5 separate regions of the Homo sapiens genome follow, and all the other regions are linked to region 5. The links are contacts of gene promoters, found by promoter capture Hi-C in blood cells and fetal thymus (Javierre and others, 2016). All regions are on one chromosome and are shown on one strand. The core of a region is centred on a gene start or on the middle of the fragment in contact, and the rest is flanking DNA. Distances in the headings are between cores, read along the strand shown.

Region 1 (5,067 bases), core at 412-2,911, 340 kb before region 5:
GATCATAATGACTGGTGGCAGTAGTCAGCATAAAATGTTGACAGGGGCTAGAAGTCCACGGGGTGGAAATTTTTATTGACTAAAAATTGACCAAAGCTTCAAATCTTCTTGACACTATGTTGATTGGCTCGATACGACCCAGGAAACTTGGGCTTGGTGGAAATAATGGCCATAAAAGAAAAAAAAAAATGACACTCTCATAAGTCAATTTTTAAAAAACAAACTGACTGGTAAACCAAGTCTTCATGGTGAAACAGTTTGATTGAAATAATTTTAGTAAGACCAAAATGGGAATGGGAAAACTTGAGAAGAAAACGAAACTGAAAAGTAATCAAATTAGTCAATTAACTTTATGGTGCTTCCTTTAAAAAATAATTTTTCCATAAGAATTAATCAGTGTTGATATAATTCTTATTAAACTGTTGATAGCAGCAGAGTCCAATCCCCAGGCTTGTGGTGCAGTGAGGGAGACATGGATGACTGGCCTTGTTTTACCTGCCTACCATCTCTTATTACTCACTGTGCACACGCAGATGCCTGTGATGGGCTGCCTGGTTCCTCCTGATTTGTAATCATCATTGTCTTACCAGTGATTTTTGTACTTCCAAACGAGTTGAGTTTTTACACTAATCACTGCCTCTTTAATCAATTAATGAGAATTAAAAGGTCATCTATCATTGGAAATTGCAACTGGCATCACCAAAGCACTACATTGGCCCACAGATGCTAAAGAATTGCATCCTACGTGAATAATTGTACTTTGGCTTTAATGAGATTTTATTAACATATGCATTATTAATTAGACCATTAATGCAGATGTCATTTTGAGTCACACCAGGATTCCCGATGGCTCACATGGTTATTAAACCTTGCTAGTTTGCACAGTGAATTAATATTATATTAAAGGTTCTCTCCACTGTGTATACTAAATTAAAATGCTTACTTTCAACGTCTCACCCACAGCATCCACGCATACTTGTTAGGGAAAGGAATAAGAGGGAAAGATTTCCATTGTAAGACCTGAGAGCTTTCTGTCTTGCAAATAACTTTGGTGTCTGCAAGTAGATAGAGAAGGAGAAGCTTAGGGAGTGGAGAAGAGAGAGGAAATCCCTCCCCCACGCCCCACACCACGAAGGGGCCTACTGTTCTTTAATTAGCAAGGTTTCCTAATGTGTCTAAAATAGAATATTTAAACTTTTTCTCACTATAAAGTATCATGTATTTATTGTAAATGATTTAGGAAATACGCATACACAAAAATGAGAACGTTTTCATTACCCATTCTTTCAGCACTCAGTAATTACCATTCTGAATATTCTCGTGTGATATTTTAGTCTACTTTCTCTATACTTAGACATCCTTTTACACAAACAAAATAATACTCTACGTACTGTTTTAGAACCTGCCTTTTTAACTTAATATTTCTTGGATACCTTTCCATATCATTTAATGTTCTTCTAGAGCATCAATTATCACATTACACATATCGATCTATGTGATTCTTTTCTATGGCTGTGGGTTGGTCAGCTTTGTGTGTCACACTGGCTAGGCTACAGTCCCCTAGTTATTCAGTCAAACACTAATTTAGATATTGCCATGAAAGCATTTTGTAGATGTGATTAAGGTCCATAATCAGTTGTCTGTAAGTAAGGGAGATTATCCTGGACAATCTGGGTGAGCCTGACTCAATCTATTGGAATGCCTTAAGAGCAAACCTGAGGTCCTCTGAAGAAGAAGAAATCCTACCTGTGGACTGCAGCTTCAGATGATGCCCAAGAGTCCCAGCCTGCCTTTCCTGCTGGCTGCCTTACAGATTTTGAACTCTCCTAACCAGACCCCACAACTATGTGAGCCAATTCCTTGCAAGCAAGCAACAAGCAATAAATGAATATATAACCTACTGGTTATGTTTCTCTGGTTGATCCCTGATGAATGCAGGCTGTGTAGGATTTTACTACATGGCCCTACCGTAATTTATTGAACCAATCCCCCATTGTTGGACATTGGGCTGGATTGTCTTGTTGTCAACTTGGCACCATCTCCTGTTTCAGGCTGGAATGATGCTTCCCAGTATGTTGTTTGCTGTGTGTGTTTCCAGGATGGGGATTACTGATGGGAGAAACCCACGCAAAATTTGGAAGGAAGAAGGAAAAGGGAAGCCACTGCTGCTGGGAGGGAATGCCAGTCAGGCACAGTGGCAGCGTCACTAGGCATGGCAGCTTCAACGGACACCAAAGCTTTGCCGACCACCCCGTGAACTCTCACCCCATGGATGCACTTTGGTGGCCAGATGCATGCAGTTCCTCAGACTTTCCCACAAGCTCGTCCCCGCCAGCTGCACCTGGCTTCAGACAGAAGTGGTTACCAATGGTTTCTCCAATGCTTCAACATTCCCTTTCTAGAACCTCACTGTCACTACTACTCCCAGATTTGCATAAGCCCCAACTCCTGTGTTAAACCCTTTATTCCCATAATACTTATAATAGCTCTGTTTTCCTCAATGAAACCACTAGTTGTTCAGGGGAACTGGTCTTTAAGAATGGGAATGTGAAATTCTTTCACTACTATTAGAATTAAGGGCAGAAATGTCACCATTGCAAAATCATGGTAGTCCATGGCACAAAGTGGCAAAACATTTCCTTAAGTTATTACCTGTAGTCACCTGAAGTCAGGTACGTGGAGAAAAAGTCAGGTGACCGACTAGCTGCTGTAACAGAACAGTGGAAACAGCATGTAAGGACTGTAGGTTAGTTAGCTACTTCTGACTGTGATGATGAATTTGAAAAAAGAAAATGGTGACCTTGGGCTTAAAGTGACCAACTCAAGGCCAGGTAGGAAAAGACAAGGCTTTGATGACTGCCCTGAAATAATCCTTTGGTTCAAGGTCACAGAAATCATTGACCTGACCACATCCTCTAAACAGCAGGCCTGATACAACAATGGATTGGCCTTTGATAGACTCATTTATGGCACCTGCCAAGTGACAAACCTTTGCAGGGCTGAGGTAATGTCCTGTGGAATGGGGTATATGCTCTAACTCAGTGACCAATGTCTGCTACTGTTTCTCCCACAGCTAGCATTCATGGGTCCAGGAATCAATGGAAGGAAACAGAAGTAGTTCATACCACAACTACCCTTAATGAAGCACAAGCAACATTTTCATTTCTATCATTGTGGCTTTGAGCTCCCTGGTGCAGAAGTCTTGATTCCCAAAGGAAAGCCACTTCCATCAATGGACACAACCATAGTCCACTGAACTGGAAGCTCAGACTGCCCCCTGGCTACTCTGGGCCCCCCGTGCCATTTAACCAAGAGGCAAGGAAGGAGGTAGTGTCCTCACTGGAGTGATTAGTCCTGATTACCAAAGGGGAAGTAAGCTGCTACTACACGATGAGGACAAAGAGGAGTCTTTCTGGAACCCAGGAGATTTTTCTGGAATGCCTCTTAATACCCCCATGGCTTATGGTAAACGTTCATTAAAATAACAGCATAGGCTGGGTGCGGTGGCTCACGCCTGTAATCCCAGCACTTTGGGAGGCCGAGGCGGGCGGATCACGAGGTCAGGAGATCGAGACCATCCTGGCTAACACGGTGAAACCCCATCTCTTCTAAAAACACAAAAAATTAGCCGGGTGTGGTGGCTGGGGCCTGTAATCCCAGCTACTTTGGAGGCCAAGGCAGGAGAATGGCGTGAACCCAGGAGGCGGAGCTTGCAGTGAGCCGAGATAGCGCCACTGCACTCCCGCCTGGGCGAAAGAGCGAAGACTCCGTCTCAAAAAAAATAATAAAATAAAATAAATAACAGCATAGTCTAATGCCGTAGGCTCTTCAGGAATGCAGATGTGAGTTTTCCACCAGGCAAGGAACCATAACCAGCCAAGGTGCTTACTAAGGGCAAAAAAGTTTAAGAAGGGAAGTGGAAGGAAGTATAGCAGGAAATTTCAATGTTCCAAAAGCTAAGTATACAGTTTCCCCTGCTTTAATGGAGTCCTCATATTGTGAGATATTCAAAATAGCAAGTTCTCCTAGCTTAGGTTTCATAAATCTTCAAATGACAAAAAACCAGTTTGACCACAACTTTCCCAAGCCTTCTGTACTGAGTGAGGAAGTGTCCATCTTTACCCTGTTCAGGGCACACATCTCTGTCCTCAGAGGTCCAACTGCCGGTTCACATGGCATCAGAAGGCAAATGAGAAAAAGATGCCCCTTTCCCACATGAAGTTTCAAAAGAGTTACATTATTAATTTTTTTTTTTTTTTTTTTTGAGATGGAGTCTTGCTCTGTCACCCAGGCTGGAGTGCAGTGGTGCAATTTCGGCTCACTGCAGCCACCGCCTTCTGGGTTCAAGTGATTCTCCTGCCTCAGCCTCCTAAGTAGCTGGGATTACAGGCATGCACCACCACGCCCGGCTGATTTTTGTATTTTTAGTAGAGACGGGGTTTCACCATGTTGGCCAGGCTGGTCTCGAACTCCTAACCTCAGGTGATCCACCTGCCTCAGCCTCCTAGAGTGATGGGATTACAGGCATGAGCCACCACACCCGGCCCATTATTTCTTAATAATCATTATTATAACAGTCATTTTGTATATGTAACAAAAAGAAAATTGTAGAACATCAAAGAACACTCGAAATTCATTGAGCTGTATACTTAAAATTTCTGTACCGTATGTACATTAAACCAAAATACAGGATGTTAAATGAAATAGAAATTTTAAACTCATACTCACTGTAATTAGAACTAGAATATGATTGTTTTAAAATTGCTAAATATGTTGTACAGCACCCCTTTTATGCCCCACCTCACATCCTCTAGGCAACCTTTTCTACTCCAGCTGTTTTTGAGACAACCAGCTGTGTGCAAGTTTAACCTGAGAGCAGCTCACTCAGTCGCCCCTGTTCCCTCCTCAACCCTCTTGTTTTTGGCTTCTGGGGCTTTTCTGCTGTGGCCACATACGGCATTCTGACAAATGTGCAAACTTTGAAGTACAAGGGAGTTAACCTCTCACAGGGCAGCAACCTTTGATCAAAGGGGGATTGGCACAGGTGCAGAAATATACCCTTCTTCT
Region 2 (4,691 bases), core at 1,862-4,361, 280 kb before region 5:
AACCTCTGGGTCTTTAGTTGTCACAAACAGAATCACTTGAGCTGCAAGGAAAAACTTAAACCACTTCTGTTTGGTGTTTTTAACTCTTCATTGGCTAATTTCTTTTTTATTTATTTATTTATTTTTGAGATGGAGTCTTGCTCTGTCGCCCAGGGCTGGAGTGCAATGGCACCATCTCAGCTCACTGCAACCTCCGCCTCCCGGACTCAAGTGATACTCAGCCTCCCAAGTAGCTGGGATTACAGGCATGTGCCACCATGACCTGCTAATTTTTTTTTTTTTTTTTTTTTTTTAGACGGAGTTTCACTCTCGTTGCCCAGGCTGTAGTGCAACGGCACAATCTTGGCTCACTGCAACCTCCACCTCCCAGGTTCAAGTGATTCTCCTGCCTCAGCCTCCCTAGTAGCTGGGATTACAGGCATGTGCCACCACGCCCAGCTAATTTTGTATTCTTAGTAGAGATGGGGTTTCTCCATGTTGGTCAGGCTGGTCTCTAACTCCTGACCTCAGGTGATCTGCCCACCTCGGCCTCCCAAAGTGCTGGGATTACAGGCATGAGCCACCGCACTCGGCTAATTTTTGTATTTTTTTTTAGTAGAGGAGGAGTTTTGCCATGTTGGCCAGACTGGTCTCCAATGTCTAACCTCAGGTAATCCACCCACCTCGGCCTCCCACAGTACTGGGATTATAGGCATGAGCCACTGCATCCAGCCTCCTTGGCTAATTTCTTTTACAGTTTCTTTTCTTTTTTTTTTTTTTTTTACTAAATGGGGGAAAAAATAGTACTCAAGAAGACTGAATAGGTAGCATATAATCTATCCTGCTTCAAATCCATCACTGCAGTTGGCTCATTTTCTTCATCTGTAACAGGGAATAATAATGGTACATAATTCAAGGGTTTGAGCATTCAACTAAGATGCATAAAGTGCATAGCACAGTGCCTTGCACATAATAAATGGTCATTAAATGATAGCTATTTTTGTATTATTATTCTTTAGCACAAAATTAAATCCTAAATGTCTTACTCCCTCCAAAAGGGATTAAATTATGATTTAATTTTATGATTTAATTTGTGGGGACATGCTCTGAAACTGGCATAATGAAAATGGTGCCTTCACAGTGGAGAAAGTTGGAGGAGAAGATTAAAATTAAGTCAACAATAGTGTGATGGGTTGGCATTGTGCACTTCCTGATAGAGCACATGGAGAGCACCCAGCATCATTTTTGTGTAATTCCTGCCAAACCTCATGTTGAAATTTGATCCCCAATGTTGGAGGTGGGTCCCAATGGGAGGTGCTTAGGTCATAGGGGTGGATCCTTCATGAATGGCTTGATGAAGTTCTTGCAATAGTGAATTTTCACTCTACCAGTCCCTACCAGAACTGGTTGTTAAAGAGAGCCTGGCACCTCCCTCCCCTCTGTCTTGCTTCCTCTCTGGCCATGTGATCTCTGTACACTCAGGCTCCCCTTCTCCTTCTGCCATGAGGGGAAGCAGCTTGAGGCCCTTACCAGAAGCAGATAAGCTTCTTGTACAGCCTGTAGAACCATAAGCCAAATAAATCTTTCTTTATAAATTACCCAGCTTTGGGTATTCCTTTTAGCAACACAAACAAACAAGATAGTTTCTCTAAGGATAAGTCTATCAAAGCAGCATAAATAGCCATCCCAAACAAGTATGGCGTTTGTTCTATTGGTTTCTGTGTGGCACCCATGCTAAGGAAATAAAAATGTCTTGTGTGAACAGGTTTCCAAACTACTGCCAAAAATTTTCTTTTGACCTCTTGCTGTGACAAACTGCATTAATGCACTTGTTCATAAAGAGCCACCTTTACATTCCTGTAGTAAAGCTGACTTGGTCATAATGTAGTATTCTTTTAATATACTACTGAATTGAATACTAACACTAAAATTTATATGGGATGTATGCCTCTATGTTCTTAAATGTGTAATCATTGTATTGAACAGTCTGAAGTCAGCAGGGCGTAAACATAAGATGGTTTTGTGGGGTTTTTTGTCCAATTGCTTATCTTCAGACAAATTCTTCCAAATCTCTTCTTCCTGACCCATAATGACATTTGAACAAATCTTATGGATTTGTGGTCACTTTCAATTAACAAAAAGTCCAGGCCAACCTATTACCAGTTTAAAACTTCAGTTACAGCATCAGCAGTACTGTGTCCAAGTGCAAGGATGTCAAGAATGTTTCCTTATCCAAAACTTCCAGGAAGAATTTAGAGCTCAGACAGAACCCCACAGAAGCTCCTTCACAAATGTGCAGAGGATGCAAATAAGTGCCTTTGCTTGCTCTCCGTGGTCAGCATGAGTTTACAGCAGGAATAAGGGCATTCAGAACACCTGGAAGCAATAGACGTCCTTTCGAAAGAACAAGATGATGGTGGCCTCAGGCAGAGAAGCCTGTCTGCTGAGTACAAAGACCATGTGCACCAGTCTAATAACAGTCAAGGGAAGACATTGGTCTCTAGTTTACCAACCACCTAAGGAGGAAGTGAGTGAAATTATCTGAAATGAACCATGCCAAGCCTGGGTACAAAGCAAGATTCTTCATGAGCCTGGACTTGGAGGTCTCTATAGCTATTCCTCCACTCCATGGAGCTACACTCAGCCTGCTCACCCCCATCAAGAGCAGTGTGAAAGGAATGAACTACTGATACACACTGCAAAATGGATAATCCTTGAAAATATGATGTGCGGTAAAAGGAGCCAGTCACGAGTGACAATATACTGTATAATTCCATTCTTATAAAAGTCCAGAATGGGGTCTCTAGAGAAACAGGAAGTAGATTTCTGCTTGCTTATGGCTGGGGGGCAGTGGTTGGAGGATAGAGGAGTAATAGCTAAAAGGTACAGGATTTCTTTCTTTTGAGATAATGAAAATATTCTAAAATTGACTATGATGATGGTTGCACACACCTGTGAATGTACTAAAAAACCATTGAATTGTACATACTGTTAAATGGGTGGATTATATGGTTTGGACATGGTTTGTTTGGCCTCACTAAATCTCATGTTGAAATGTGATCCCCAGTGTTGGAGGTGGGGCCAAGAGGAAGGTGTTTGGCTTGGTGCCATTCTCACAGCAGTGAGTTCTCACTCTTAGTTCCCATGAAAACTGGTTGTTGAGAAGAGACTGGCCCCTCCTTCTCTTTCACCATATAAGTCTGCATGCTAGCTTCCCTTCCTCCCCTTCTGCCATGAGTGGAAGCAGCCTGAGTCCCTTGCCAGAAGCAGATGCTGGTGCCATACTTCCTATACAATCTGCAGAACCATATGCCAAATAAACCTCTTGCCTCTTTAAATTATCCAGCCTCAGGTATGTCTTTATAGCAATGCAAATGGGCTAAGACATGTGTTATGCAAATTATATCTTAATAAAGCGATTTTTTTTTAAAAAAGAGAGACAGAGAAAGAGATGTGGAGATTCTGCCAACCAATGACAAAGTGTGCAAGAAAAACAACATGTTAAGGCATGGTAGGCCCATGTCCTGCAGCTCTTTAGGTCTGAGATGTCTGAATTCAAAAGGACCATCCGATTCATGCAGCAGGCACAGCTGGGGAGGTATGAATCAATGGGTAATGAGGCAAGAGGCACATACACATCCTCAGAGGCAAGAGGAAAGGGATGATGAATACTGGGGTACTCAGGCCTGTGAGCAACCCCCACCCAGGTCACAGAACTCCTCTTCCTGCCCTCTCCTCTCTGGGAAATACTTATTTGCTTCTGGCCTGGGGATAAGGAAGGGAGACAGGAAGGACTGACTTTCTACAAAAATTTTAAAACCGTATCTGCAGTTGACTCCCTGTGGGCAGCAAAAGGGACTTTTCTTAGAAAAAGACTCTTTGAAGTTGTGCTTTCCTCCAGATTTCTAACATTCAGAGCTTCTTTCCAGCTCTGGCTACTGTGACAGGCCCCTAGCCAGAGCAGTTTCTCTGCACTGGGAGTGAGCACCAGAAACCACCAGCACTGGGATTTCATTTCTTTGCCCCTAGTTGGAATACAGACTTCTGAGGGACATGTGCTCCCTGTCCACCCTCACCTTCGCCCACTGGGAGGAGGCCTGCGTCCTACTTATGCATAAGCCCCATGAATGTCAACTGAAAGAGAAGAGCATTTAGCCAAGGGAGGAGGAAAGCCACTGCTGAGGTGCAGCGTGAGCAGGATGGTCAGTGATGTGTCAATGACCAACAGTGATCTGGAAGTTGTAGTCCTCCCTTGAGGGTGACTCAGATGGTCTTTGCGTATATTGTTCCATCTAGAAGCATTGAGAAAACAGCTCCTTCTGTGCCTGTCTCCCTTTTTCTATCACATTCAGCAGAGGGAGGGCCATTCAGGCCCCTGTTGAGAGGCCAGGCTGGCTTTCAGGATGGGGGAGATCCCCAGGGAAGGGTACAGTTACCCCTGAGGCTTCCACCAGCCTTTTGTTCTGCTCCCCCTCACCAAGTCCCCAGGAAGCACAGGTCCCCTAGGTCTCTCAGGTGTGAGCTACCAAGTCAAGTGCCTGCTTTATCCAGACAGGCAATGCCAGAGAAGAGCTGCTTCACCATCTCTGTCTCAACAGCAATGATGACAGGGATGGACTCTCTGACTCCAGGGGTGCCATCCCTAAAGAACAGGCAGCTACAGCAGCCACCTGGCCACAACAATGGAAGGGAGAGGTGGCCAAGGGTGGGAG
Region 3 (4,345 bases), core at 778-3,277, 300 kb before region 5:
GGCCTCTCAGAGGCTGAGAGAAGCCTGGGCCACTTCCAATTTTTAAGGTGCCTAACATACTGATAAATGAAGATATGAAGAAACAATTACCAAAATTGTGATATACAGTCAGTCATGCATCGCTTAACGGTGTGGGATATGTTCTGAGAAATTCATCCTTAGGTGATTTTGTTGTTGTGTGAACATCATAGAGTGTACTTACATAAACATAGATGGCAGAACTATGTGCCTAGGCTATATGGTATAGCCTATTGCGCCTAGGCTACAAACCTGTACAGCATGTGACTGTACTGAACACTGCAGGCAACTGTAACAGAGTGGTAAGTATTTGCATATCTAAACATAGAAAAGGTACAGTAAAAATACAGTATTATAATCTTGCGAGACCACCATCAAGCATGCAGTCCTTCATTGACCAAATGTTGTTATGTGGTGCATGCCTGTATTTTAAATCTTTACATTTATCAAATGAGCACTTTCAATATAAAAAAAGAAGGCAATGAGATATTGCTAATCACAAGATAATTCCAGTATGTATTTTAAAAGCATATTAATTTATAAGGTACTACAAATGGTGTGGTTCAGTAATGGGATGCAAATGTTACTTTGGTGAACATTTCCTACTTTGATCTGGTGAATGTACCTCTCTGATGGGACATATAACTTCCTTTGGAGGTGCTATAGTTCTATCTGTTTGACCCCTCAAAATCTCATGTTGCAATTTGATCCCTAGTGTTGGAGGTGGGGCCTAGTGGGAGGTGTTTGAGTTATGAGGGCAGATTCCTCATGAATGACTTGGTGCCATCCTCATGGTAATGAGTGAGTTCTTGCTGTATTAGTTTCCTGGAGAACTGGTTGTTAAAAAGAGACTGGTACCTCCTGCCCCACCATGTGATCTCTGCCCACACAGGGCAGCAGCATCTGCTTCTGGTGAGGGCTTCAGGTTTTCTCATGGCAGAAGGTAGAGGGGAGCCTGAGTGTGCAGATATCACCTGGCTAGAGAGGAAACCAGAGAGGGGGAAGGAAGCACGATGTTTCTTGTACATCCTGCAGAACCATGAGCCAAATTAACCTCTTTTTAAAATAAATTACCAAGCCTCAGGTATTCCTTTATAGCAACACAAAAATGGGTAAAGACAGGAGATAACATCAAAAGATTAAATATAAGCTCTTTCATGAGGTCAGGCCCAGCCATGGGGCCCACCTGGCCATTGCCTGACCTCAGCCCAGCCCCCATGAAAGGCCTGAGCATGAGCCAAAGGAATTCATCCTATAGCATCAAGCAGCCCTCAGCTGAGAAATGAGCTCCCAGAGAGGGTTCTTATGGAAACAAGTCTCTGCTCTCATCAGAGAATTGAGCCATCTTTGTTTTATGTCACAAAATGATTATATTCTGGGATGTTTCACTCCATTGTGTCCAGGCTTACCCTGAACCAAGAAAAGTAGAGATTCACCAACATTGCCAGTATAGACGTAGAGAAAGGGATAGGAGATGCAGGGCTCTATGTGGTTCAGAGGGTTGAGAAGGCATCTCAGAGATTACTCTGTGGCTCAATCTTGGAACATGAATAGGAGTCTGCTGGGTGGAGAAGATCATTACAGGTGGCTGGAATAGCACTGGCAAAGGCATAGGGTTAAGAAAGCACGCGGCAGACATGGGAATGGTACAGAGGCCAGCGTGACTGTAGCCAGGGGTGGGTGGGGAGAGTGGAAGCAGACAGAGCTAGAGGAGAGATTGGGGAAATACTGGAGAGAGTGTTGTACCTGAGAAGGCCCGGCCAGGTCTCTCTCCCTTGAGGGATGCAGTCTTTTGCTTCCAAAGAGTAATCTCAGCCCTAGAGTGCAGCTGTGTGCCCAGAATAAATCCCTGTGGGATGCATTCCATCCACTCCTTGCAGCAGGTCTTTTCAAAAGATTTCAGCAGCCTCTTGTTTGCCTATAGCTCTTATGCAAGCTGCTGCAGGCCAGGTGTTCCTTGGAGCCTAAATTCTGCATTTCCCATCTGTATCATTTACAAACCAACCTGGATATCTCCCTGCTTCTAGACAAATCTGAGGTCTTTTACATAGGTCAATCTGTTGAGAAAAGAAAAATGTAATGAGGTTCCGGCCAGGTACAGTGGCTCACTCCTGTAATCCCAGCACTTTGGGAGGCTGAGGCAGGAGGATCACCTGAGGTCAGGAGCTCAAGACCAGCCTTGCCAACATGGCAAAACCCCGTCTCTACTAAAAATACAAAAATTAGCCAGGCATAGTGGAACACACTTATAATCCCAGCTATTTGGGAGGCTGAGGCAGGAGAATCGCTTGAACCCAGGAGGCAGAGGTTGCGGTAAGCTGAGATCACGCCACTGCACTCCAGCCTGGGTGACAGAGCAAGACCCCAGCAGAAAGAAAGAAGAAAAGAAAGAAAGAAAGAAAGAGAAAAAACAGAGAGAGAGGGAGGGAGGAAGGAAGGAAGGAAGGAAGAAGAAAAATGTAATGAGGTTTTGAAATAACAAAGTCAGTTCCCTGATAATTTTACAGGCTTGAGAGTAAAGAAAGGCCAAGAAGGTTGGTTTGAAGGCAGAGAACAACTAAGGTGGCCTAGAATCGTCACATCTTGGCACCTAGAGCCATCAGGGTTCTCTGAGACCATCTGGTCCAAGGACGGCAAATATATGGCACATGTGCCATCCTCCCCACATCTGGTGTCCAGGGCAGATGTTGTTAATCTATTGCTACACACTTTTTAGCCAAGCATCTCCCCATCAAGCACATTCAGCTCATAAGTGAAAGCCAATTGATCATTCCTGATGGTTTCCATTACCCCCATTTCATAGATGAGAAAATGGAGGCACAGGGAGGTTAAGGGGTTTGTCCAAGGAGAGCTTTCAGTTCCTCCCCACCATTTCCACATGGTTTGTGGAAGACAAACACTTTTATGCCTCAACTGTAATAAGGGAATGAGTCCAGCACCTGGGATAGGGTTTTAAAAGCAACAAAATTTTTTTCCATTTCCAGTTCCAGTTGTTATATGACAATGCTTTGAAATGTATATTTTTATTATCATAATAAAAGAACACATAAACAGTTAGTAAGTTGTGTCCACACACTTAATAAAGGCCTAAGGAATTTATTCATTCACCCAAGGGCCAGGCAGTGTACTGGGTATTGAGTTTATGAGGACACCAAAGACATCCCAGGGGCCCAGGGAACTGAAATGTCCAAATCTGATATTCTGCTTAGTTGGGAGAGGTGAGAGCTGGCCTCACAAGCAGGTACAGTGCAACTCCCTTCCCAGGGATGAAAAGGACCCAGAGGTTCCACACATGCCACCCCTCACTCGGTCCTCTATACAATATTTTCTAGAGCCCCTGACAGGCCCCTGTTCACACACCTCCAGGGATCACTACTTCCCAAGACTGCCAACTGTATCTTCAGCTGGTTCTACCCACTACAAATTCTTCCTTTTGCTGAAAGGGAATGAGCCTCCCCGTGACTTCCACCAAACTGGCCCTGCCTTTGTCCTGTGAGGAACTAGTTTTCCGAGGACCTAAGAGAGAATGTTGTGGGGGAGGGGTCTCTTGTAAGAGAGAGACAAAGCCAAGAGGAAAGGAAAGGCACTAAAACCATCCTTCCCAATTTACCGTGTGGCAAGACCATTTCCTATCCCCACGCATAATTCTTAAGCATATCAGTGGAACATCATCTTGCCCATTCTGCCCTGGTACATGCTGAGATCCTCGTAAATCCCAGCTCCTGCCGAAGACCCAAAATGCATTGTCTATGGGATCCTGTACAAGAGAGCTGGTTGCTATGGTAACAACTGGAGGTAAATTTCCTAGCACCCCCAACTAAACTATTAATCAGAAAGATGAGGAAAGAGTCAGGGTGGTCAATAAATTAGGGAAGAAATTGGCTCCTACCGGGAAGCACACAGAGCAGGGCCACCCCACCCCACCCCACCCCCACCCCCACCCCCACCCCCGCTGAGGCCTCACTCTTCCCTCCCTTTGATCTTCTGATGCAGGAGGAGAAGCAGCCAGAGCCTGAGGGGAAACCTGCCTCCATTCTCCTCTCCAACTCTTTGTTTCTCATCCTGGTGGAGTCAGAGAGGTTCCCAAGTGGAAGCTGCACCCGGCATCTCATCAGTGAGGGCCCCAGTTAGCAGGAACATCAAAGGTAGAAATGCTGGAACCTGAAAAAAAGAATGCTCTGTCCAGCTTGAAAGAAGCATTCTACTGAAGTGTGGTGATAAGATCCGGATTAGAATCAGCATTGATGGATCATAGAAGGATTAAAGTGACAGGGTCCCAAATCTTCACAAAACGTTTGCAGATTTGTTTGTTTGGGTTTTTTCCAAG
Region 4 (5,025 bases), core at 2,144-4,643, 320 kb after region 5:
GTGATTTTCAGCAAGTGAGCTCCGAATCTCATTTTCTTTAACTATAAAATTAGGATAATAGAAACATCTCTCTACTTCAAAGTGTCGTAAGGATTAAGTGAAAAAATGCAAGTAGAGCAGCTGGCACAATTGCTTGACATTTGGTAAATGTTATTAATGGCTAGTCTTTGGTATAAGGCATTTAGAAGTGATTTGTGCTGGCATTCACAGCATAGACAGATCTCATTCCTATTTCCAGATGCTCTGAGATAGCATACTCATCCTCTAATTGTGTACAAACTTCAAACTTACCAAACACTTAAGTTCATTATCTAAAAATAGCCTTAACCAATCAATAATAATGCCATTTTACAGGTGGAGAGGTTGAGACTGCAAGTTTCAGTGGCCAATGAGTAGCAGCTGGCCAAGGCCTAGGGGACTTTTTTTTTTTTTTTCATTTAAAAAAATTATTTCTAGTCAGTCTGTGCTTATCCAGGGGACTTTTAATGTTTATTTATTCCTTGTACCCCATCCTTACATGCTTTTCTTGGAGGAAAATAGTGTAATTGTTACCCTGGATTCTAGTGTATGTTCAGGCTGGAGTAAGAGAAAATGTGATGGTTCAGTTTTTGTGACCAGCTTTTTAACTTTCAGGCCATAAACGCCACAGAGGGGCTCAATACTTGGAATAAGCAGTTCTAAAATAGTACATTAAGAAACAGTTGGGGAGATATATACAGTTTGTTTGTTTGAATATGTAACATGAAATAAGAAAGAACCATAGCAAATTTGAGTTTGGTAAACTCTTGAAAGGGGTACGTTGAAAGAAATGGGGATAGTGAAAAATGTTTATTCTCCACAAACAGGTTACCAGCTTAGTAGGAATGCTGCTCCTAAGTTAAGGTAGTGTACTTCCTGCTGTCAGTGCAACATTAAAAAAAAAAACTGCTTTATCATTGCTCTTTATAGTTCTTCTGTGGAGTAAGTTAGCATTACAGTTAACATGTTCAGCAGTTCACAGGCTGGAAAATTTGGGCCTACATTTGGAATGAAGAACAAGTACAGGAATCAGGACTTCTTGTTCTCTTCCCCCTCTTTGCTTGAGCTAAGCTTGTCTCTTACAAGATCCAGGCACCATTCTTTTTACTCTATTTTGCTTTTATAGCTTGATCATGTCATAAATTCTGCATGTAGCTCAGTCGTCAAGCCACTAAAGCAGGGGTTGGCAAGCTTTCTGTTAGGGGCAAATGGTAAATATTTTAGGCTTTGTGGGCTCTTACGATCTCTCAGCTGCCAACTGCAGTTGGTAGTATGAAAGCAGCCAGGGACAATATGCAAATGAGTGGGTGTGGCTGTGTCCCAATAAAACTTTATTTACAGAAAAGATGGCTGGCCGGATTTGTCCTACAGGACACCTTCTAAAGTAAAGAGTAAAATTTGGCTAAGTGTGAAATGGTCACCAAATCACTTTTATTACTTTAAAGATGTTCATTTTATCATAGATCAAAGCCCTGAGATTACAAATTCATTCATCAGCGTTACTGAGTTCCTGCTATGTGCCAGGCACTGTGCTAGGAGTTGAGGATATGGACGGGCAGGGGGACTGCCTTTTTGAGGTCTATAATCTGCCATAAGATGCCATGTGAGTAAATATCTCAAAGACCTGAAAACCTTGCTGGAGGCTCAGAGAGAACTTACCTGAAAACATGACATTTAAAGGAACCTGAAGGGATAGGTCCAGGTTATCTAGGGTGACTAGGTAAAGGGAGGGTCAGGCAAAGATCATGTTGATCAAGGTGGGGAGTTCAGAATTGTCCACTTAAAACAATATTGGATGCAATATGGGTACTGTATTTGAAGGAGAGGTCAGAGGGGTATATGAGCAGCTCAGCATTTATTTAGATACGTGTAGTGAGGAAAGAAAGGCATCAAAGAAGACTCCCTGATTTCTGGTTTAAGTGCAGGGTTGACGGTGCCATTCGCTGAAGTAAGGAACAAGTTTCAAGGGGAAAATAATGGGTTCGATTTTGAGCCTGGGAGGCAGTAGGGAGGACTCCCTTAGGAAGAGACACATAAAGTAAGGTTTGGGTGAATAGGAATTGGCCAGATAGAGCGGGGCATCTTTGAAAAAGTGTTAAAGCAGATGTATTTGAGGAAGAAAGACCAGTGTGACTGAAGTGTGTTGTGCACAGAAGAGCAAGAAAGCCTCAGTCCTTCCAGAAACTCCTGTTATTTATTGTGTTTTCATACTTGAGTCTTAAGAGATTCCATTCTGACATCTGCTGGCTATTGTGTATACTGCAGTTCCAAATTCCACTACACAAGAACAACCTTTAATAACGTATTTTTTGAAATTTGTCATAATAAATTTGAGATAAAACACAAGACCTTTTCCTTACTCTGTGTTATGGACATCACCCAGGAGACAGTGAACAGTTGCTACTTACATGCTACTTGTGTATGCTCAGTATTACAGATATGCCTATGTGGTGTCAGTTGCCTACTTTAGCATAAGTACACAAAACATAGAAATCACATATGTAAAAGTTGAATATACTTGTTACTGAGATGTAAAACATTACAAAATCATTTATGCACTTTGTCTTTTAAACATACGAAATATTTTCAGAGTTATGAAATATGTTCTTAAATTGTTTCTTTCATTCAGAAATAAAACACAGCTGGTTTTAGTCCAACAGTCATTATAAGGCTAAAAAGATCTACTTTAAGCGTGTCTAATAGTTTTTCATCTTTTTCTCAGTCACATTAGTAATAGTAGAGTTGACCCTTGAACAACACAGATTTGAAGTGCACAGGTCCACTTACGTGCAGATTTTTTTCAAAAAATGCGTTGAAAAATCGGAGATTTGCAACAATTTGAAAAAAGCACACATATGTAGTCTAGAAATATTGAAAAAATTTAAGATAAAGGATGTCATGAATGCATAAAATATATGTAGATTGTAGTCTTACTCATAAAATGCACACATCTATTATAAAAAATTAAGATTTATCAAAACTTATGTACACAGACCATACATAGCACAATTTGAGGTCAAGAGAAAGATGCAGTATTAAATCATAACTGCATAAAATTATCTTTTGTAATAGTGTAATACAGTAAGTCCATAGCCACCTCTTGTTGCCACTGCAGGGAGCTCAAGTGTTATAGGTATCCACTTAAAATGCCATGTGACACTCATCTCTGCATGAGCAGTTCCTCGCTCCAGTAAATTGCAAATCAAAGTAAAAGCGATCCCTCTCTGTCTCATGTATTTTTTGTGTTTAATACCATACCACAAAACTTTGAATAACTCCATGGGATCTATACAGAGTGCCACTAGTGATGCTGGAAGTGCTCCCAGGAAGCAGAGAAAAGTCATGACATTAAAGGAAAAAGTTGAATTCTTGATATGTACTATAGATTGAGGTCTGCAGCTGTAGTTGCTCTGATTTCAGACACGACTAATCTTGTAAACAGACAACCTAAACTTAGAATCTAAATAAATACGGTATAGTACTGTCAATGCTTTTTCTCTCTGTGATTTTCTTAACATTTTCTCTAGCTTACTGTGTTGTAAGAATACAGTATATAATAGATAATGATACAAAATACATATTAATCTATTTTTTATGTTATCGGTAAGGTTTCTGTGCAACAGTAGGCTATTAGTAGTTAAGTTTTTGGGGAGTCAAAGTTACATGCAGATTTGTGACTGTGCAGGTGTCGGGGCCCCTAACTCCCACGTTTGTTCAAGTGCGGGGTATTTTCATTTCCACTTAAGTATATAGAGGCCAAAAATGCAAAAAAGAAAGAAACTATTACATAAACAGATGTACAAAGATAATACTGCATTTGAAATACAGTCACTTGAAATGTTCACTAATCAGCTTACATATTCAAGTATAAATTCGGTGAACAAAATGATTTAGGGACAGCGATATGTAATGTAAAAATTGTGGGTTGTTGGAAAGTAGAGATCTGTCTACATGGAAAGAATACTAGAATTAGGATTTCAATGTCCTAGATTATAGTTTCAGCTCTGCTATTTATCATGTGACTATGTGAGTCAGATTTTTTAGTTGCAAACACCAAAATCCAATTTTGACAGAAAAAGAAAAGTATTTTATTAAAAGGATAACAGGGAGTTCAGTATCACCAGGAGGCCTAGAGAATTAGGCTTGGAGAGTAGGCAACTGGAACATCACCCTTTGTTCCTTGGTCATACTCCACAGAGCTGGGGCAGTGAGGACGCCATTTCTGCTGAACATTAGGTGCCACCACTTACTTTGCCAAAGCCACATGCACAGAACCCTGGATCATGGCAGCCAGTGTTGCTCTAAGAACTTGCCGCACTTGCCATGGTCCCAGAGAAAATTATTCCAGAGACTTTATTGTGTCTCTGGTACTTAATTCAAAATCAAGAGTAATTTGTAGCATGATAGAATCACAAGGAGAAGCAGAGAAAATACCTGGAATTTCCACTTCTATAGTGAAAGGCATGTTCTGCTTCCCAGCAAACTCATAAACAAGGAATTCCCAAATGTAGGAAGGGACCTCAGATGCTGGGCAGCCAAAAAGCATGGCATGTCCACTATGTTGACCTGGGACACCACTCTGTGTGAGCCTACTTTTTCTGGAAAGCAAAGTAAATAAAGCTCCCATGGCTGAGGAGATTTTGTGTGTTCACTTATACATTTGCCAGTAAACACCAGCCAGGTGCCAGTGTATAAAGATGAGTAAGTTTCCTCTCGAGTCTAATGGTAGGATAGAGGCATGCAGAGGTGAGATGAGGGCAGAAAGAAGAGAGGGCTCAACTGTAGTTTGTGAATGATGTTCTTATATTTAAGTAGTTATATTTTTGGCTGGGCGCATTGGCTTACACCTGTAATCCCACCACTTTGGGAGGCCGAGGCAGGTGGATTACCTGAGGTCAGGAGTTTGAGACCAGACTAATCAATATGGTGAAACCCTGTCTCTACTGAAAATGCGAAAGCCTGTAGTCCCAGCTACTTGGGAGGCTGAGACAGAAGAATCGCTTGAAC
Region 5 (4,977 bases), core at 416-2,915:
AGTTTTCCCGTTAGCCTGGGATTTTCTGAGTCTGGTGTGCCCCAATTGTGTGTTTAATTTCAGTCTTTTCCTTCTTGTTCAGGTTTTACCGCAGGAGAATAACCTCTCCATTCTAATCTGAAATTAATTATTTATGCTTATGAACACGCTGGATGCCTGCCTGGTTTATTTATTTTTCAAATAATGCATCTGAATAGGCATTCACACAAGACAGGGCAAACATAATTTTGAGGCAAAGGCCCTTTCCAACTGTTGCCCGATTAACTGTTCTAAGCCATTGTGTAGCCTTGTCCTTATCCTGCGGAGTCCAAAATTTATCCCTCGCGTACTAATTAGATGGCAGGTGTCTGTGTCTGACAGTCAAGATTCGCATTATCCAGCCCCACCACCTGACCCTTACAATCTTATCTCCTGCTGCTATGACTTTCTCCACTGGGCCAAATTCCACTCATCCATCCTCCAAGGCCCAGTTCAAACGTCTGCTCTGTGAAGCCATCTCTGGTTCTCCCTCGAGGGGGGAGGTCCCCTCATGCTTCTGAATTTCCAGTCTTTTGTTGTTGTATCCTTCATCAGACGCTAAGCTCCCCAGGACCTGGCACGCAGTAGGTTCCTCAATGGAGCGTTTGCTGGAATGGGGGAGGGTGGTCTCCAGCTTCCCGAGAGGCACCTAAGCACGCCAGCCAAAGTGGGGCTGGGCAGAGACCAGACCCGCTTTTGGAGTCAGTGTCTACAAAGTGCTCTCGGGGGAAGGGGGCACGCGGGGAACGTCGCCCACCCGGAGCCGATCCCCCCAAGAACGCTTCACTCGGGTGGGGTTACTGCTTGGGCTCGCCCCAAGCACAGTGCGCACACTTCACACATCCGCAAGCCTCCTGAAACGCCTCTCCCCTCAGGCCGACCTTTCTGTTTCCTTCAACGCCTCCCATCTGTTGTGTGCGTTCCAGTTTCCAACTCAGAGTCAGAACCATCATTTCCAAAGACTCCTGCAACAGCCCGAGGACGCATACAAGGCATGGGTTACTTTTCAGACGGAGATTTGGGGCTCAGGGTCCAGCGACTCACCCAAGGTCACTCTCAAGAAGTATGAGGGCTATGACTTTGACCCAAGCCTTCTAACTCCCCGGGCAGCGCTCCTCCCAAGCCCCCCGCAAGCTGTCTGAGCTTCAAAGGAAAAAGTTTAAAAGTGATCCATACGTCCCAAAGCACGCACAAAGCGTTCTTCTGTAAACTGCGGCATGGGTCGCTGATAAAAGGTCCCTCTGAAGGTTTGAAGATACTCAACAAGGCTCCACAGAGGGTACTTTGGAGTTTTCCGCGAAGGCGCTCGCCCCGCAGAACCGACAAGGCCCCTAAAACCGACAATGCCCAGACGCCCCCTGCAGGCAGCGCGCTAGAGAACGCGTTGGCTGTTTCTGGCACGCTGAGGCCACCGTACGGCATCAAGGGTGAAGCATGGTGGCTAGCGGAGCCCGCATCCTGACAGGTGTGCTGGCGTGGCCCTCTACCTGCCCCGCCGCGGCGGCCTGCGGCCAGGAGAAGTAGGCTGGCGACATCTGGCGGGCCGCGGGCCGAGGGAGGGGAGGCGGGGCGGGGCGGTGTCTCCCTCACGTGACCCCAACAGCGCCCAGCGCGTCGCGCTGCGCCCCAACCTCGGGGTCGGTCACAGTCTGCGCCTGCGCGGGCCCCGGCTCGCTAGCCGTCCTGCGGGACGCCGGCGCTGATGGGTGAGTGTGGGACGAGCGTGGGGAAGCACCGGGCTTTCTTCGCATGAGGTTGGAGGGAGGGGAAACGCGCTGAAGGGCCCGCTGGGGCAGGCTGCCGCCCTGGGGGCCCATCCCTGTCTTCTGCGCGCTCCGGCTGCCCTGGCCCGGTCCCTGCGGGCCCCACCCAGGCGGCGCGGGCGGAATCAGTTCTGAGCCTCCTCGGCTCCGGGCTCCCCCGCCTGCCGCGGGTGTTTGTCCGGCTGCTGGGCGACCTTTCCCGCGAAGGCGCTGTCCCTTCATTCGGGCGCGCCCTGGGCTGGGGAGGCACCTCCCTGGTGCACAGGAACCGCAGGGGCGGGGAGGAGCCGGGAGCTGCCTGCGCCCGGGGGACAGCGGGGATGGCACCGCGCAAGGGCCTCTGCGTCCCGGGAGACTGGGATTTCGGCCTCACCTCGGGACCCCTGACTGTGAAGTGTCAGAAACGGAAGAGGACTTAGTGATCTTGTCCAACCCCCTCCCCGCCTTTCACAGGTTGGGGAAATGGACGCCTGGAGAACGGTAAGTTCAGCTACATAGCCTGGCAGTGCTTGTTCTGCGACAGCATATTGCATCGCGTTGTAGGAAGCTCACTTGTACAAGGATTTTCGGGGACGATGGTGTTGGTGGTGTTAGTCTCCATCCATTATTTGGTGTTCAGTTTAGCTAGATGGAGTATGTCAGCACCTCAACTTCCTGCAAAACCTTTGTTTTGCATCTCACAGCTCTACCTAGCTGATCTTAATTCCCACCTTCTGTTTTTCTCTACTTGTAATCTCTGAAACAGAAGCCCTTGAAATGTATAGTGACCTTGCCATTTTGAGCCGCCTCTGCCCGTGCTTTGAAAGGATTCCATAGGATCAAAAGGTGCTAGGACTCTTGAGGTCCCATAGTGGTTTAGAGCACAGGTTACCGCTTTGGAACTGGAATCACCCTTAGCGCATCTCAGGGGAAAACAAGCTAGGAGTTGACTCATCTGATCTCTCGTTTGGTAAATGAAAGCAAACTCAGATCAGTGGATTTTAAAATCAGATATTGCTTTGTCTTTATATTGGCAAGCTAGTGTCGTAACTAGGACTAGACCCAGGCTGATCTTGTTCTGAATGCTGACTCAGACCTGCTGACTAGTGGAAATTCACATCCTTTGAGAATTGGAGTCACCCTCTCCCCAGTTTTTGCAGAGACCTTTGTGCTAGGATCATATCTGTATCATGCTGATCCATGTAGGCTGTAAATTATAATAAGGTTTTAGACTTTACACTGTTTTCTTAGTCACAGAAGCTTGACACTTGTAGTTGCTTGAAAATCAAGTTCATTAACTGCTCCCTTATGATGAGATAGTTTTACGTAGCAAACAAGCGTAAAGTTATGGTAAATAAATTTTGCAATAAATTGCAAAGAATTATCCACATTAATGAATAAAAATATAAAGATCAGTTTAGCAAAGAAATTTAACCATGTTCACAGTATAGGTAAACATGCAAAAGTCTAAACTGTACTACCAAATAATGCTGTGCACATTATCCTTCTATTGCTAAATTAAGAACATATTCACACCATCCTGGTGTGTAGGATTAAACTAGAGAAAAAGCTTTAAATCTGTAAAGTCCAGGAGGGTTTCATAACATTTTTTCCCCCATCTAGGCCTATTTTTTAAATCTGAGAATCTCAATGTACAGTAATGTTCTTAAAATAGTTGGATATGGTGGTCAATAAATGGTTAACTTCTGTTAGCTGTAGTTTTCTGCTTGTTTAATAACAGTCCCCATTCTCACACAGAGTCATAAATAAACTAACCTTTATTTGCAAAATTTCAGAAAGTAATACAAGTAACATTCCAGTAAAAGTGAACATGGACAAAATTTTTATTGTTGTTCAAGTACACAAATAACTTGGCTTGTACTGTCAAGGAGCATGTGTAAACAGCTTGTAGGTGGTGACTTTAGAATTTAAAATATTTTGTGTGCTCCGTATGTAAAAATAAAATGGTTTTGACATTCATAAATTGTCACAATATCATGTAATCATGTACATTAATCTAAATATTCTTGTTGATTTAACATTGTTTAATTCTGAAACTGAAGAAGTGCAAAGCATTACATAGGTATCAAGCATTTCTAGACTAAGTTTTAGGACTTCAAATATTGATTAATCTTAGCTTGTAAGTGTACTAATAAGAGTTTTTAACTCATACCTATCAGCTGAATCAGTAAAAAGTAAGGATGTAGTAGAACTAATAATTATCAAACTCAATACCCTAACAGACTTCAGTGTCTAGAACATATCTTGAAGTTAATCATATTAAGCCCCAAAACTCTGTACATTAAGAAAGGGAGAGGAGAGAGGGAACAGATGATATTCTGGAACCTTTTTTTTCCCTTTAATCTTATTTTTACTGTGAATAACAACACTAGACTCACTGAAGATTTTGGGACACTTACTAGCAAGCATAGTTAAGACAAAATGCCAACTCTCTTAAATAGTAATAAGAGTTTTGCTCAAAGAAAAGTACACAGCCTTAAACAGTCAAGTTATGAAATAAAGGATAAAAATAGTTGTCTCACTTAAGAATTACAAGAAAATAAGCCAGGCACAGTGGCTCACACCTGTAATCCCAGCACTTTGGGAGGCCAAGGCAGGCTGGATCACTTGAGCTCAGGAGTTTGAGACCAGCCTGGCTAACATAGTGAAACCCCGTCTCCACTAAAAATACAGAAATTAGCCGGGTATTGTGGCATGCCTGTAATCCCAGCTACTTGGGAGGCTGAGGCAGGAGAATCGCTTGAACCCAGGAGGTGGAGGTTGCGGTGAGCCAAGATTGCGCCACTGCACTCCAGCCTGGGCAACAGAGTGAGACTCTGTCTCAAAAAAAAAATTTTTTTTTTAAACTAGGTGAGCATGGTGGCTGATGCCTGTAGTCCCCTTTGGGAGGCCAAGGCTGGCAGATGATGTGAGCCCAAGGAGTTTGAGACCAGCCTGGGCAACGTAGAGAAACCCTGTCTCTACAAAACATACAAAAATTAGCTGGGCTTGGTGGTGCGGGCCTGTGGTCCCAGGTACTCAGATGGCTGAGGTGGAAGGATTGCTTGAGCCCAGGAGGTCAAGGCTGCAGTAAGTGCAGTGAACTGCGAGGTAGCCACTGCATTCAGCCCAGGTGACAGAGCAAAACTCTGTCTCAAAAAAACAAAACAAAACTGAGAAATAGTAAGATTGGTAATTCACAAGCTGCTGCTTTGCT

What was found. The method cuts DNA at HindIII sites, captures the fragments that hold promoters and counts their contacts. A CHiCAGO score of 5 or more calls a contact.
Region 1: a fragment that was not itself captured here is called in contact with the fragment with the promoter of SLC25A51 in region 5 in 5 of 17 cell types (endothelial precursors, M0 macrophages, M1 macrophages and 2 more); the score reaches 11.2 in endothelial precursors.
Region 2: a fragment that was not itself captured here is called in contact with the fragment with the promoter of SLC25A51 in region 5 in 4 of 17 cell types (endothelial precursors, M2 macrophages, M1 macrophages and 1 more); the score reaches 9.7 in endothelial precursors.
Region 3: a contact is called between a fragment that was not itself captured here and the fragment with the promoter of SLC25A51 in region 5, in 3 of 17 cell types (M1 macrophages, M0 macrophages and endothelial precursors). The highest score is 8.1, in M1 macrophages.
Region 4: a fragment that was not itself captured here is called in contact with the fragment with the promoter of SLC25A51 in region 5 in 4 of 17 cell types (megakaryocytes, erythroblasts, endothelial precursors and 1 more); the score reaches 14.3 in megakaryocytes.

The regions. Positions count from the first base shown.
Region 1 is chr9:38,244,181-38,249,247 of GRCh38, reverse strand. No RefSeq gene overlaps it. Among named protein-coding and RNA genes, the nearest start is that of ALDH1B1, 150 kb to the left of the region's middle. The HindIII fragment of the contact is 1,157 bases long and covers 1,083-2,239 here.
Region 2 is chr9:38,180,957-38,185,647 of GRCh38, reverse strand. No RefSeq gene overlaps it. Among named protein-coding and RNA genes, the nearest start is that of SHB, 110 kb to the right of the region's middle. The HindIII fragment of the contact is 3,172 bases long and covers 1,526-4,691 here.
Region 3 is chr9:38,201,925-38,206,269 of GRCh38, reverse strand. It overlaps LOC107987064 (a long non-coding RNA gene), which reads left to right. Exons shown (of 2, transcript XR_001746667.2): 2 at 4,012-4,310. Among named protein-coding and RNA genes, the nearest start is that of SHB, 130 kb to the right of the region's middle. The HindIII fragment of the contact is 8,239 bases long and covers 1-4,345 here.
Region 4 is chr9:37,579,985-37,585,009 of GRCh38, reverse strand. No RefSeq gene overlaps it. Among named protein-coding and RNA genes, the nearest start is that of FBXO10, 6.1 kb to the right of the region's middle. The HindIII fragment of the contact is 4,363 bases long and covers 1,212-5,025 here.
Region 5 is chr9:37,900,815-37,905,791 of GRCh38, reverse strand. It overlaps SLC25A51 (solute carrier family 25 member 51), which reads left to right and starts at 1,665. Exons shown (of 3, transcript NM_033412.4): 1 at 1,665-1,724. It also overlaps the pseudogene PAICSP1. RefSeq lists a silencer at 1,465-2,224. The HindIII fragment of the contact is 4,581 bases long and covers 1-3,022 here.